2 separate regions of the Homo sapiens genome follow, and region 2 is linked to region 1. The links are contacts of gene promoters, found by promoter capture Hi-C in blood cells and fetal thymus (Javierre and others, 2016). All regions are on one chromosome and are shown on one strand. The core of a region is centred on a gene start or on the middle of the fragment in contact, and the rest is flanking DNA. Distances in the headings are between cores, read along the strand shown. Region 1 holds the start of SCP2 (sterol carrier protein 2). Region 2 has its middle 14 kb from the start of SLC1A7.

Region 1 (6,571 bases), core at 3,134-5,633:
AAGATGATGGAGTAGCAAGCTGGCTTTTCTCTGCAGCCATTCCAAATAATTTTCCAAATCTCTGCCAGGAAGGTAGTATATGTGTGACTACCAGTGTTGCTTCTCACAGCTGGGAAGTACTACCCTTTAGCATGCAGAATTCAATTTAATTCCCTTTTTTTCAACTTGGGCCTAACAGCTCAGATGATTCTAGAGCCTCTTCATCTGTTCAGTTTCCCCAGAGAAAAAGTCTCCAATACTCTGCTAAGAAAAGGTAAAGTCACCTGGTGGTAAAAGAGATCTTGGGACCTAACTGTTCCTTAGAATAGTCTTTTTCTTCTTTCCCACCCTACCTGGCACCTAGTATATCCAAGTTTTGGGCCTTCTGGAGTTCTGCTGGGAGGCTCAACCAGTATAACCCCTCTTCAGGAACTTAGGTAGTGGTCTCTCTGCTCTGAGTCAGTGACCACTTCTCCATCAACTTCAGAATCTTCCAAAAATCTTCCGATATATCTCAGCTATTGTTTCCTTTCCTACTCACTTTGCCCTTGTGGATTAATATCATTTTCTTTCCTTATTGTTGCTTTAGTGGGATATGGAAAGCACCAACAGAGATAAATTCATGTACTCAATCTGCCATGTTTAATCAAATATCTCAAATAATCTTATTTAAACTACTTGTTTATTCTTTTCTCCTCCAGATTAGACATTCCTTTAAAACAGGAACTTTGTTTTTTTCATTTTTGCATCTCTAGCATATAACCCATAGAATATTTACTGAATATATGTTTCAATGATAAATTATAACAGTAATATACAGTAGAGATGGCATGGAAAGAGCACAAGATTTTAAGAAAGGCAGTTCCAAAACTTAAAAGCTGCACCAAAATAAAGTACTTAGCCCCTCTGAGCCTCAGAGTCAGATAATTGAATGGATATAAAAATCCATTACGTGGTGAGAATTAAATAATGTAATATTTTTCAAACTGAAATTTGAACTTATTAGATTATGACCAAATCAATTTAGCAGGTTGTGAGCAGCACTTTTTTTTTGAGACAGAGTCTCACTCCCATTACCCAGGCTGGAGTGTGGTGGCTCAAACAGGACTCACTGCAGCCTCAACCTCCCAGGCTCAGGTGATCCTCCCAGATAAGCCTCCCGAGTGGTTGGGACTATAGGTGTGCGCCACTAAGCCCAGCTAATTTTTCTTATTTTTAGTAGAGAAGGGGTTTTGCCAATATCGCCCAGGCTGTTCTCAAACCCTGGGCTCAAGAGATACACCCACCTCAGCCTCCTAAAGTACTGAGATTTCAGGCATGAGCTACCACATCCAGCCAAGCAGCAATTTTTTTTTTTTTTAAGATATACTTTAGGGATACCAAGAGTTCATCACATGTAATAAGCGTTGCTTTAACAAATTGTTTCAGTTGTTACAAATAAGTTTTGTATGTGTGTACTGGATTGTGATGTAAGATGTATTTCATGAAATTACCATACATAAAAGTACTAGAAAACTGAAGTGCTAAATTACATGTTCTGACTATAAGGTCACCAGAATTTCAAAAAAGGTGACCAGTGTAACTTAGAGTAGTCTGAGGAAGTTTTAAGAAGGTATGGGACTTAGCCTAGTTCTTGAAAGATAAGTAGAATTTAAGTAGATGAAAAGAGGGTATATCAGGAGATAGGCAGCATAAGTGAAGAGGCTTGCTGTCAGCCAGACGGCAGCTGTGACTTAGTTGTGTTAAAACCTGTTGACGGCCAGGTGCGGTGGCTCACGCCTGTAATCCCAGCACTTTGGGAGTCCGAGGCGGGTGGATCACGAGATCTGGAGGTTAAGACCATCCTGGCTAACACGGTGAAACCCCATCTCTACTAAAAAATACAAAAAATTAGCCGGACGTGGTGGTGGGCACCTGTAGTCCCAGCTACTCGGGAGGCTGAGGCAGGAGAATGGCGTGAATCCAGGAGGCGGAGCTTGCAGTGAGCCAAGATCGCGCCACTGCATTCCAGCCTGGGCGACAGAGCAAGAATCTGTGTCAAAAAATAAAATAAATAAAAATACAAAAAGTAGCTGGGCATGGTGGCACACACCTGTAATCCCACCTACTTGGGAGGCTGAGCAGAAGAATCACTTGAACCTGGGAGGCAGAGGTTGCAGTGAGCTGAGATCGCCCCACTGCACTCCAGACTGGGGGACAGAGTGAGACTCTGTCTCAAAAAATAAAAATAAAGTATTATGATAAATTATAACAGTAATATATGGTAGAAATGAGACCCATCTAGTAGTAAGTAGTGAGACCCTGTCTCTACAAAAAAAATTTTTTTTTAATTAGCCAGGTATGGTAGAATGCCTGTAGTCCTAGCTACTCGGTAGGATCGCTAGAGTCCAGGAGTTCAAGGCTGCAGTGAGCTATGATTGCACCACTGCCTTCCCATCTGGTTGACAGAGCAAAACTCCGTCTTCCAAAAAAAAAAAAAAAAGTGTTACAGTGTTGTCTAGTCAATATTTCTCCCTCCTCCATCAAACTCTGTCCCAAGGTGCAGAAGACCAGACCTATAGCAAAGTACACTGGCCAGATAGGCACATCATTAATGGCACTACCCAAACTCCTCACCACTTTCCTCTGGACTGTAACACCTCCCCGACCTCTACCTCCCAACTTGAGGAAAAAGGAATACATCTATTTCCCAAAGGTTTAGACAACTGTGCTTTTCCATACAGCACATATAATCAGGCATTCAGCAGCCAGAGGAAGGTTTGACTGCATTAATACCTTACTTCGAAAGATCCTACTGTCCACCTGTGTTAGAAGCCTCCCCTTCTGTGAAACACTAGGATGATGTCCTTCCGCTTCATAAGGTATTGGTCCACTTTTCCATTTCCATGGATATTTTTTGTTTTTGTTGAGACAAGGACTGACTCTATGGCCCAGGCTGGGGGTGCAGTTGCGTGATCTCAGCTCACTGCAACCTCCATCTCCCAGGCTCAAGCAATCCTCCCACCTCAGCCTCCCGAGTAGCTGGCGTGTGCTACCATGCCCGACTAATTTTCGTATTTTTAGTAGAGACGGGGTTTCACCATGTTGGCCAGGCTGGTCTCGAACTCTTGACCTCAGGTGATCCACCCGCCTTGGCCTCCCAAAGTGCTGGGATTACAGGCGTGAGCCACCGGCCCCGGCCTATTTACATGTTGGACTGAATTAGGTACGCTCAGCCCACTGGTAAAATAATAAACATTTTAGGGCTGTTTTCTCAGAAATAGAACTCTCCCTAGGAACTCTTTCACAAAGCATATCCATTTAGTATTGTTCAACTAACATTCACTGAGGGTCTTCAAGCATCAGGAACGTTCAGGGCGAGGGGCACAGCAGTGAATAAGCCAGGTACCCAGTCTAGAGGAGCTGCCATGCTAAGAGGGCGCGCAGACGCCTATGAGCTTTAGTACTGCCCGGTACTGCCGAGCACAGTAAGTGCAGGACAGAGGTAAGCACAGTGCAAGGCTCTAGGGGAAAGTCAGGAGGATCCGAGGCGTCCTGGAGAAGATCCGATCTGAACGGATCCTTTCAGGATGCACAAAAGTTAACAGGTGAAGATACACGGTACAAACAGAACAGAAGCAAAGCAACAGAGGCATCAGACAACTGCGTCCGGGGAGAAACGAAAGGCAGTTTGGCATTAAGGAGCATGCGGGCGATGAGGGGAAAACGGCCGTGGGAGCCTGCGGCGTCCGGGTCCCAAGCAGTCACTGGAGGGACAGAGGGAGGCCGGAATCTGCCACTCGGGCCGAGGCGCTGGGCATCAGGAGCGTTTCTCCTCGCCATCCACATCTGGAGCTGTCTCTGTGAGGGCTCCTGTGGGGGCTGTTCCTGGGAGGGCCGAGCAGGCGGCATTCGCGACCTGCCTCCCTCCGGGGCAAGCCAGCCCACACACCTCGGGACTCCGCTCAGAATCTAAAGAGGTGAGATCCTTGGATTATCTCGGGGCTGCTTCATGAACTCTGACCAGAAGAAAAGGGAAGGAGGAAGCAGAAGGCCGCAGGAACCAGCCCGAGACGCTATGACCCCAGAGATTCCGCAGAGTACAAGCCACCAAGTCGCCACGCCGATGACCCACGCGCGGAGCAGTCGAAGCTAGGAGACCGGAGGGACAGAGAAACCCAGGCACCGACCGCCCCCGAGCCTCAGAGGGCCAGCAGGGCCGCTGCTCGGTTTACCTTGGTCATGCCAACCCCCACCACGAACACCCGGCGCAGGGTCGCAGGCTCCCACGGGGAAGAGGACATGGCTGCACCAGTGCGGGACCGGGGCGGGCGCCGCGGACGACTGCCGGCACTGACAGGCGGAGACTGCACCAGAGCTCCCTGAAGCCCGAAGCCAGGGCCGCGGGCGGCAACACAGGCGCGTGAGAGTGCGCGTGCGTAGGGGCAGGAGGAGGGGGCGGGGTGGGGCGCGTCCTGTGGGGCGGGGAGCGTTCTCTAGCCCTTAGGCAGCCGAATCCCTAATTTGCGGACTTGGGCATGGGACTGAGTCAACCTGTCCCCATCTCTGATCCTGTGCTTAGGTTCTGTACGGTGAGCGGGAGTAGGCTTGCAGTGGGGCCTAAGACTGAGAGGAGGGGTTGGCCGGAAAGCGGACTCATGAAAGGTGACCCTGAGGAGAGCCGTTGGGGTTCGTGTTGGAATTGGCCTGTGTCCTGTTAGCGGTGGCAGTTGAGAGTGAATTCATGAATTTAAACTCACAGGACACCAAGAAAGCGGGGATGGGCAGGATCTCACACATGGATACAATGTCTAAATCAAAAAACCCAGGCTCCGTCACCAGCTGCGTGACCTTTTTAATCTTGTGAACAAAAGTTCTCCGAAAAGGAATTTGGAAGACAGAGACTTTATTCCAGCAAACCGGGGAGAAACAGCCTTCCATGTTTATTGGAGACCGGAGTCTCGCTCTGTCGCCCAGGCTGGAGTGCAATGCCGCGAACTCGGCTCACTGCAGCCTCCGCCTCCCAGGTTCAAGCAATCCTCCTGCCTCAGCCTCCCGAGTATCTGGGATTACAGGCGCGCGCCACCACGCCCCGCTAATTTTTGTATTTTTAGTAGAGATGGGGTTTCGCCATGTTGGCCAGGCTGGTCTGGAACTCCTGACCTTAGGTGATCTACCCACCTTGGCCTCCCAAAGTGCTGGGATTACAGGCGTGAGCCACCGCGCCCGGCTCCCCGGTTTATTTTATCTTATGTAAAAATGCAGATTCATTGAGCTAGATGAATGCATAAGTGACTATTTCTCTACCCCCCTCACATGTGAAGGTTGATCAAAGACTCAGAAGAATGCAACCGTTTGCCTCTTATCTACCCACATCTTTTTAAAATTTATTCATCTTTCCCCAATATCTGCCCCTTCCCCTATAAAAACTGAAGCCCTCAAAATCATCTTTGGAGAAAGGCACGGACCTGTCTCCAAAGATGATGCACGTCCTTAAACTTGGCAAAATTAACTTCTAAATTAATTGAGATCCGTTTCATATACTTTTCGGTTTGCAGTATCAGCATTTAGAAAGGCTCTCCTAGAAGATTCTAAGGATTGCTTCTTGGCCATTTGGCTAAGATCAAGTTTAGGAGATTCTAAGAAGCCCCCTCTGTGCTAAGTAAAGAACTACTGAGCTAGGACTAGACCAACTTAGTAAAATTGCTGCGCTCAGTGATGCACGCCTCCCATCTGCTCAGGAGGCTTCGGCAGAAAGATCACTTGAGCCTGGGAATTCAAGGCTACAAATGTGCTATGATTACACCTCTGAATAGCCACTGCACTCCAGCCTGGGCAACATACCAAGACCACGTCTCTAAAAAACCAAAACGAAACAAAAAAAAAAAAAAAAGAAAAACAAACACAAATCAGGGCACTGACATGTACAGTTGTTTCTTGAAACTGATGGACTGACAAGACAGCAATATGATTGGTGGATCAGACAAAGTTACCAACCTAATAGAACAACAAGTCCTAAGGTCAAGATTAATTGTTATGTAACAAATCCTGGCTGTCCACTGGATATTGCTTTCAAAATAAGAGTCCATAGAGGGCAGAGGGGATAGATAGTAATATAAAAGGTATTTGTTAATACCGAAAAGACTGAGAAAAAACACTTCCCTTTCCAATGTGAAGGACTAAATAATCCAAACTTTTCCCACTATAAAACACAGACTTTTCTAAGTCATTGGATGTGGGGCTCTGGGGTAGCCTGAGCTGTTTGTCCCACACCAAGATGCTTCAAAACATTATTAAAAATGTTTGGATCCCCATGAAGCCCTATTATAACCAAGTTTATCAGGAGATTTGAGTAGGAATGGGGTTAATGAGCCTCATCATTTATAAAATCAGGAGTACTGATAAAATAAGTAAAATATTGAAAGCTTCTCCACCTGCTTATGGTCATCACTAACCAGCTTCACTTAGCATGCACATGAAATGAAACATTAGTCGACCTGTGAATTTAAGCAAGCTATGTTAGAAAGGAACCTGGAAAATCACTGTACACTTATATAAGTACCACTTACTTTGTGGCATGAATAAGTATACCAAAAAAAAACACCCAGAAATG
Region 2 (6,579 bases), core at 852-3,351, 230 kb before region 1:
CCACCTCCCGAGTTCACGCCATTCTCCCGCCTCAGCCTCCCGAGTAGCTGGGATTACAGGTGCCTGCCACCATGCTCGGCTAATTTTGTTTTTGTATTTTTAGTAGAGACGGGGTTTCACCGTGTTAGCCAGGATGGTCTCAAACTTCTAACCTCAGGTGATCCGCCCACCTCGGCCTCCCAAAGTGCTGGGATTACAGGCGTGAGCCACTGTGCCCGGCCTCAGAATGGTAGATTTTAACATGTTTCAATCAATTGATAGATCAAGTAGACCAAAAAAAAAAAAAAATGAGCACAGATACAGGAGATTTGAACGAATGGATTCTCAAGTTTAATCTAATGGATATGCATATAACACTGGACTCATCTGCAAAATACACAGTCTTTCCAAGCACATGTGGAGCATTTATGAAAACTGAGTATCATAAAGCACGTCTATTCAAAGGATTACTATCATATATTCTCATTTTCTGACCACAATAGGGTTATCAGAAATCAACAAGGTGTATTAGTCCATTTTGTGCTGCTATAAAGGAATACCTTAGACTAGGCAATTTATAAAGAAAAAAGGTTTAATTGGCTCATGGATCTGCAGGCTATAAAAGCATGGCTCCAGCATCCACCCAGCTTCTGATGAAGCCTCAGGCAGCTGTTACTCCAGGCAGAAGGTGAGGGGGAGCAGGTGTGTCACATGGCAAGAAAGAGCACAAAAGAATGAGAAAGAAGGGAGGCACCAGACTCTTTCAAAAACCAACCAGCTCTTGAGTGAACTAACAGAGCAAAAACTCACTCTACTGCGAGGATGGCACCAAGCCATTCATGAGCGGCCCATCCCCATGATCCAGACTGCTCCCACTAGGCCCACCTCTAACACTCAGGATCACATTTCAAACATGAGATTTGGAGGGGACAACTATCCAAACCATAACACAAGGTTTTCCAATAATGGTGCTGGAACAATTGGTTATCCTCATAAAAAAGATGAGCTGATTGATTGATTGCTTGAGATGAGGTTTCACTCTGTCACCCACGCTGGAATGCAAGCATGATCATAGCTCACTATGACCTTGAACTCTTGAACTCTCCTGCTTCAGCCTCCTGAGTAGTTAGGACTGCCAGCATGCACAACCACACCAGGCTAAATTTTGAAAATTTTTTTGTAGAGATGGGGGTCTTACTATGTTGGCCAGGCTGGTCTCAAACTCCTGACTTCAAACCATCTTCCTGCCTCAACTCCCAAAGTGCTAGGATTATAGGTGTGAGCCATCACACCCAACCACAAAGGTGAATTTGGATCCTTAACTTATACAACACACAAAAATTAATTCAAAATGGATTGTAGACCTAAACTTAAGTGATAAAACTATAAAGCTTTTAGAAGAAAGCATAGGAGAAACTCTTCGTGATCTCCAGTTAAGCAGAGTTCTCAGATACAACATTAAAAGCATAACTCATAAATGAAAAAAATCAATAAATTGGAGTTAATAAAAATTACACACTTTTATACTTTCAAAGTCACTATTAAGTAAATGAGAAAGATAAGCGACAGGCTGGGAGTAAATATTTGCAAATCATAATTCTGATAAAGGTTTTTTATTTTATTTTAGTTTAGTTTTTTGAGACGGAATCTTGCTCTGTTGCCCAGGCTGAAGTGCAGTGGCATGGTCTTCGCTCACTGCAGCTTCTGCCTCCCAGGTTCAAGTGATTCTCCTGCCCCAGCGTCCTGAGTAGCTGGGATTAGATGCGCCTGCCACCACACCTGGCTAATTTTTGCATTTTCAGTACAGACGGGGTTTCACCATGTTGGCCAGGCTGGTCTCAAACTTCTAACCTCAGGTGATCCGCTGGTCTCGGCCTGCCAAAGTGTGGGATTACAGATGTGAACCACTGCGCCTGGCCACTGATAAAGATTTTAGCCAAGCATGGTGGCATGCACCTGTAGTCCCAGTTACTTGGAAGGCTGAGGCAGGAGGATTGCTTGAGCCCAGGAACTAATTTGAGGCCTCAGTGAACTATGATCATATGACTGGCATTCCAGCCTGCGTGACAGAGTGAGACTCTGTCTCCAAAAAACAAAAACACAAAACAAACAACAACAAAAAGGCTTTCATATCCAGAATATATGGAACTCTTACAACGCAGTAAGAAGAAGACAACCCAATTTTTTTTTTTTTGAGATGGAGTCTCGCTCTATCACCCAGGCTGGAGTGCAGTGGCGCGATCCCGACTCACTGCAACCTCTGCCTCCCGGGTTCAAGCGATTCTCCTGCCTCAGCCTCCTGAGTAGCTGGGACTACAGCTGCGTGCCTCCATGCCCAGCTAATTTTTTGTATTTTTATTAAAAATGGGGTTTCACCATGTTAGCCAGGATGGTCTCGATCTCCTGACCTCGTGATCCACCCACCTCGGCCTCCCAAAATGTTGGGATTACAAGGCATGAGCCACCACGCCCAGCCCCTAATTTTTAAAATAGGGAAGAGATTTGAGTAAACACTTCACTGAAGAAGATATATAAATGATTAATAAGCACATGAAAAGATGCTCAACATTATTAGTCATTAGTAATATGCAAATTAAAACCAAAATGAGATACCACTTCATGGCCATTAGGACAGCTGTAATGAAGAACACAGACAATAATACCTGTGGGCAACACTGTGGAGACATCAGAATCCTCATACATTGGTGGCAGGAAGGTAAAATGGTGCGGAAACTTTGGAAAACAGCTTGGCAGTTTCTTAAAAAGGTAAACATAAATGTATCCAGCAACCTAGCAATGGGACTCATAGGTAGCTACTCAAGATAAATGAAACATGTCTACAGAAAAGCTTTTGCATGAAGGTTCATAGCAGCATTATTCATAAAAGCCAAAATGTGAGTACAAATGTCCATCAATCAGTGAGTAGAAAAAAAAATGGGGTACATCCATACAATGTAGTACCTACCATTCAATGGTAAGAGGGAGTAACTACTGATCCATGCTGCAAACATGGATGAGCCTAGAACATATGCAGAGTAAAATGAGAAAAAAAAGAACCCAGATTGTATGACTGCATTTTTATAAAATGTCCAGAAGAGGCAAATCTATGGAGATGGAAAGCATATTAGTGATTGCCTGGTGTTGGAGATGGGAATGGGGATTGGCTAAAAGTGGGCATGAGGGGCTCTTGGGGATGTGGAAGTGTTCTAAAATGGGACTGTCATGATGATTGCACAACTCAGTAAACCTACTAAAAACGATTGAAGTGTGCACTTTGGGTAAATTATACAGTATGTAAATCATACCTCAATAAAGCTTGTTTATAAAAGGAACAAAAAGATAATTAGGAAAGCCTATGTTGGGAAGTTACGAAACATACATAGTTATACATAATGCATAAAAATAAAAAATTGAGCGGTGGCAAGCAGACAACTACATGTACTGGGTTTCCTGGTGGCCCAGAGTTGTGGCTTACAGAAGAGATGAACTATGGTCTGAGGATAATATGAATTGGAAAGACTTCTAGGAGAATGAGAGCCTCCTCGATGTCCCCCCAGAGATGGCTACCGTATTAGCTGTTCTCTCACTGCTATGAAGAAATACCTGAGACTGGGTAATTTACAAGGAAAAGATGTTTAATTGGCTCACAGTTCTGCAGGCTGTACAGGGAGCATGGCAGCATCTGCTTCTGGGGAGGCCTCAGGATCCACCTGCCTCGGCCTCCCAAAGTGCTGGGATTACAGGTGTGAGCCACCGTGCCGGGCCTATTTTTTCTTTTGTTACTAGAGGTGGGCTCTCTAAAATATCTTAGTTGCAATTTTTTTCCCACATGTAGACCCTCCTAATCCATGTTCATCTTTTTTTCTTTCTAAAATTATTAGTGACGGCGAATCTGTACAGGTCTGTAGCAACCTCAATTCTTGCGTCCTCAGAGGAAAGAATTTGACCGAGGGGCACGAGGCAGAGGGAGAGACTGAGGCAAGTTTTAGAGCAGGAGTGAAGGTTTATTAAAAAGCTTTAGGGCAGGAATGAAAGGAAGTAAAGTACACTTGGGAAAGAGCCACCTGGGCAACTTGAGTGATCAAGTGTGCCATTTCACCTTTGACTTGGGGTTGTACATGTTGGCATGCCTTGCGTCCCTTCTCCCCTGATTCTTCCCTTGGGCTGTCCGTGTGCACAGTGACCTGCCAGCCCTTGGGAGGGGAGTGTGCACAGTGTGTTCACTGGAGTTGTATGCATGCTCACTTGAGGCATTCTTCCCTTACCAGCCGAATGTCCCTGGAAAGTCATGTATCAGTTAAACTCACCATTTTGCCTCTTAGTGAGCATGCTTGAGCCCAGTTGCCCAACTCCTGAGATTAAGCAGCTGACCACCTGTTTCAGGTGTTTCTATCTACTGGGAGACGGCCTTTCCCTGGCACCAGCTGCAACCAATTATTATTTTAAACAGACAGTTAACAACCACCTGACCATCACCTGATGGTTGCCTGACATTTGTGGTGAGGTATAGGGAGCCCTCTCCTGCCCTGCTCATGCTTGACTAGCTACCTACTGTACCAAAATGATGGGCCAATTAACTTTTCAAGCTTTGAGAATGCAGCCTTGGAGAGCAGCTTTCTGTACTTATGTTCTGTAGTCTTCCACAGTATGTAATCATTTGCTTGTTACAGGAGTGTAATTTACAGGTTAGAGATCATTCCACTTAAACATTTGTAGTCTTTGCATCTCATAGTGTTACGGGATCTTTGGGGTGTCACTTTTCTGGCCAGAAACTTCTGTGGGCAGTGGTGCCTTTGCCCGAGTTCTTGTCCTGCATCCAGGAAGAATAAGGTACTCAGACAATGAAGGGCGAGCAAGACGAAGAGAAGCTTTGTTGAGTGTTAGGACAGTTCAGAGGAGACCCTCAGCGGGCAGCTCCTCTCTGTAGGCAGGTTGTCTCATCCAGCGTTCAGCTCTCAGCAGACAGGAGGCCCTGGAGAGGGTGGCTGCTCTCTGAAGGCAGGTCCCGGTTGGCTTCCCAGCTTTCAGCAGGAGCTTTCAGCTCCTCTCTGCAGCTGATCATCCAGTCGCCAGTCATCTCTCTGTCCTCTCCATCCTCTGCCCTTCTCTGGCTGATCCCAGGGCTTTTATGGACCTCAGAGGGGAGGAAGTACATGCCAAATGGTCTATGGGCGGCCATGGGCAGACTGGAAGAGGCACCACAAGTCCCCACTCTGGTCTGCAGGACTGTCAGCCAGGCTTCCAGGCTTCAGGCCCTCCCTGTTAGAATTCACAGCAGTGATTCTCAAGACTTGCATGCTTTTTCTTAGACTTTGTAACTTTTAATAAGTTAAAGGGTACTATCCCAATAAGCTGAATACTCTAGCATCTTAGAGAATATTTGCTTTGAGAAAAATTCTCATTCAATGGTAAAATAGAGCACTTAAATCTCTGAAAGTCACCTCGGAATAAAATTTTTCTTTCCAAGTAAATGAACTCAATGTCTGCTATTAAAATAATCCTAATAATTCCTGACTCTCACCAATGTGTGAGTCTTAAACAATATTATTTACAAGACTAATGAAAGGGGGCAACTTGAGGGATATTTTAAAGTTGAGATTTCTCAAAAATTGCTCGGAAACAAGAGCTAGACTCAGTCTCAAAAAAAAAAAATAAAAAAAGGAAAAGGAAGAAAGGAAGCGAGGAGGCCAAAGCACTCCCTTCACAAGTGAGCCATCCAAATCATGGGTTAGTTAAGAATCTACCTGGGATGGTTAGGATATTGCACTCATTTCCTGGTCCCTTCCAGCAGCCCACTGACATTGAGCCAAAATACGCAATTTTGTGGCATTAGTTAACTAGTGAGAAAACCTTAAAAATCCTGTTTCTTATTACTACCCAATTTCTTTATCCTCCCATTTTCTTTCCATTTCTACTCTCTTCTCACTGGAATTCTGGCATTATTTTTAGTGGCCTCTACTGATAATATCAAAAAGAGCTTCCCCAGGTATATATAAATTATATTAAAAGTGAAAATATGCCACGTTGAGTAGTTGGGTTAAAAAGAAAAAAAAAAAGTGTAAATAGGCCAGGCAGAGTGGCTCACACCTGTAATCCCAGCACTGTGGGAAGCCAAGGCATGAGGATTGCTTGGGGCCAGGAGTTGGAGACCAGCCTGGGCAACATAGTGAGATTCAGCCTCTACCAAAAAAAAAAAAAAATTAGCTGGGCATGGTGGCATGTGCCTGTAGTCCTAGCTACTCTGAAGGCTGAGATGGGAGGATCGCTTCAGCCCAGGAATTTGATGTTGCAATGAGCTATGATCGTGCCACTGCACTTCAGCCTAGGCAGCAGAAGCAAGATCTCATCTCGAAAAAAAAAAGTGAAAATAGCAGTATGCATAATTTTAATTGGATCCTATAATGATGCTCAAAATATCTGCTATGTCATTCCACAAATTTAAAACATAATTGAGGATAATTAGTTTTTAACATTTCCTAAATGAGACCATCTTTAATTGTTCTATTTGCCATTTAGATGTTATACTTATCTAATTTTTTAAAAACATAAGTCAAACTAAACCCTACATATCAACTCTGGTATTCTTTTTTTTTTTTTTTT

The links. The method cuts DNA at HindIII sites, captures the fragments that hold promoters and counts their contacts. A CHiCAGO score of 5 or more calls a contact.
Region 2: a fragment that was not itself captured here is called in contact with the fragment with the promoter of SCP2 in region 1 in 1 of 17 cell types (endothelial precursors); the score reaches 5.1 in endothelial precursors.

The regions. Positions count from the first base shown.
Region 1 is chr1:52,925,088-52,931,658 of GRCh38, reverse strand. It overlaps SCP2 (sterol carrier protein 2), which reads right to left and starts at 4,383. Exons shown (of 16, transcript NM_002979.5): 1 at 4,194-4,383. The coding sequence starts at 4,262. It also overlaps the pseudogene LOC100652967. RefSeq lists enhancers at 3,961-4,050, 4,061-4,120, 3,773-4,288 and a silencer at 4,341-4,620. The HindIII fragment of the contact is 6,408 bases long and covers 1-6,385 here.
Region 2 is chr1:53,153,630-53,160,208 of GRCh38, reverse strand. No RefSeq gene overlaps it. Among named protein-coding and RNA genes, the nearest start is that of SLC1A7, 14 kb to the right of the region's middle. The HindIII fragment of the contact is 1,457 bases long and covers 1,373-2,829 here.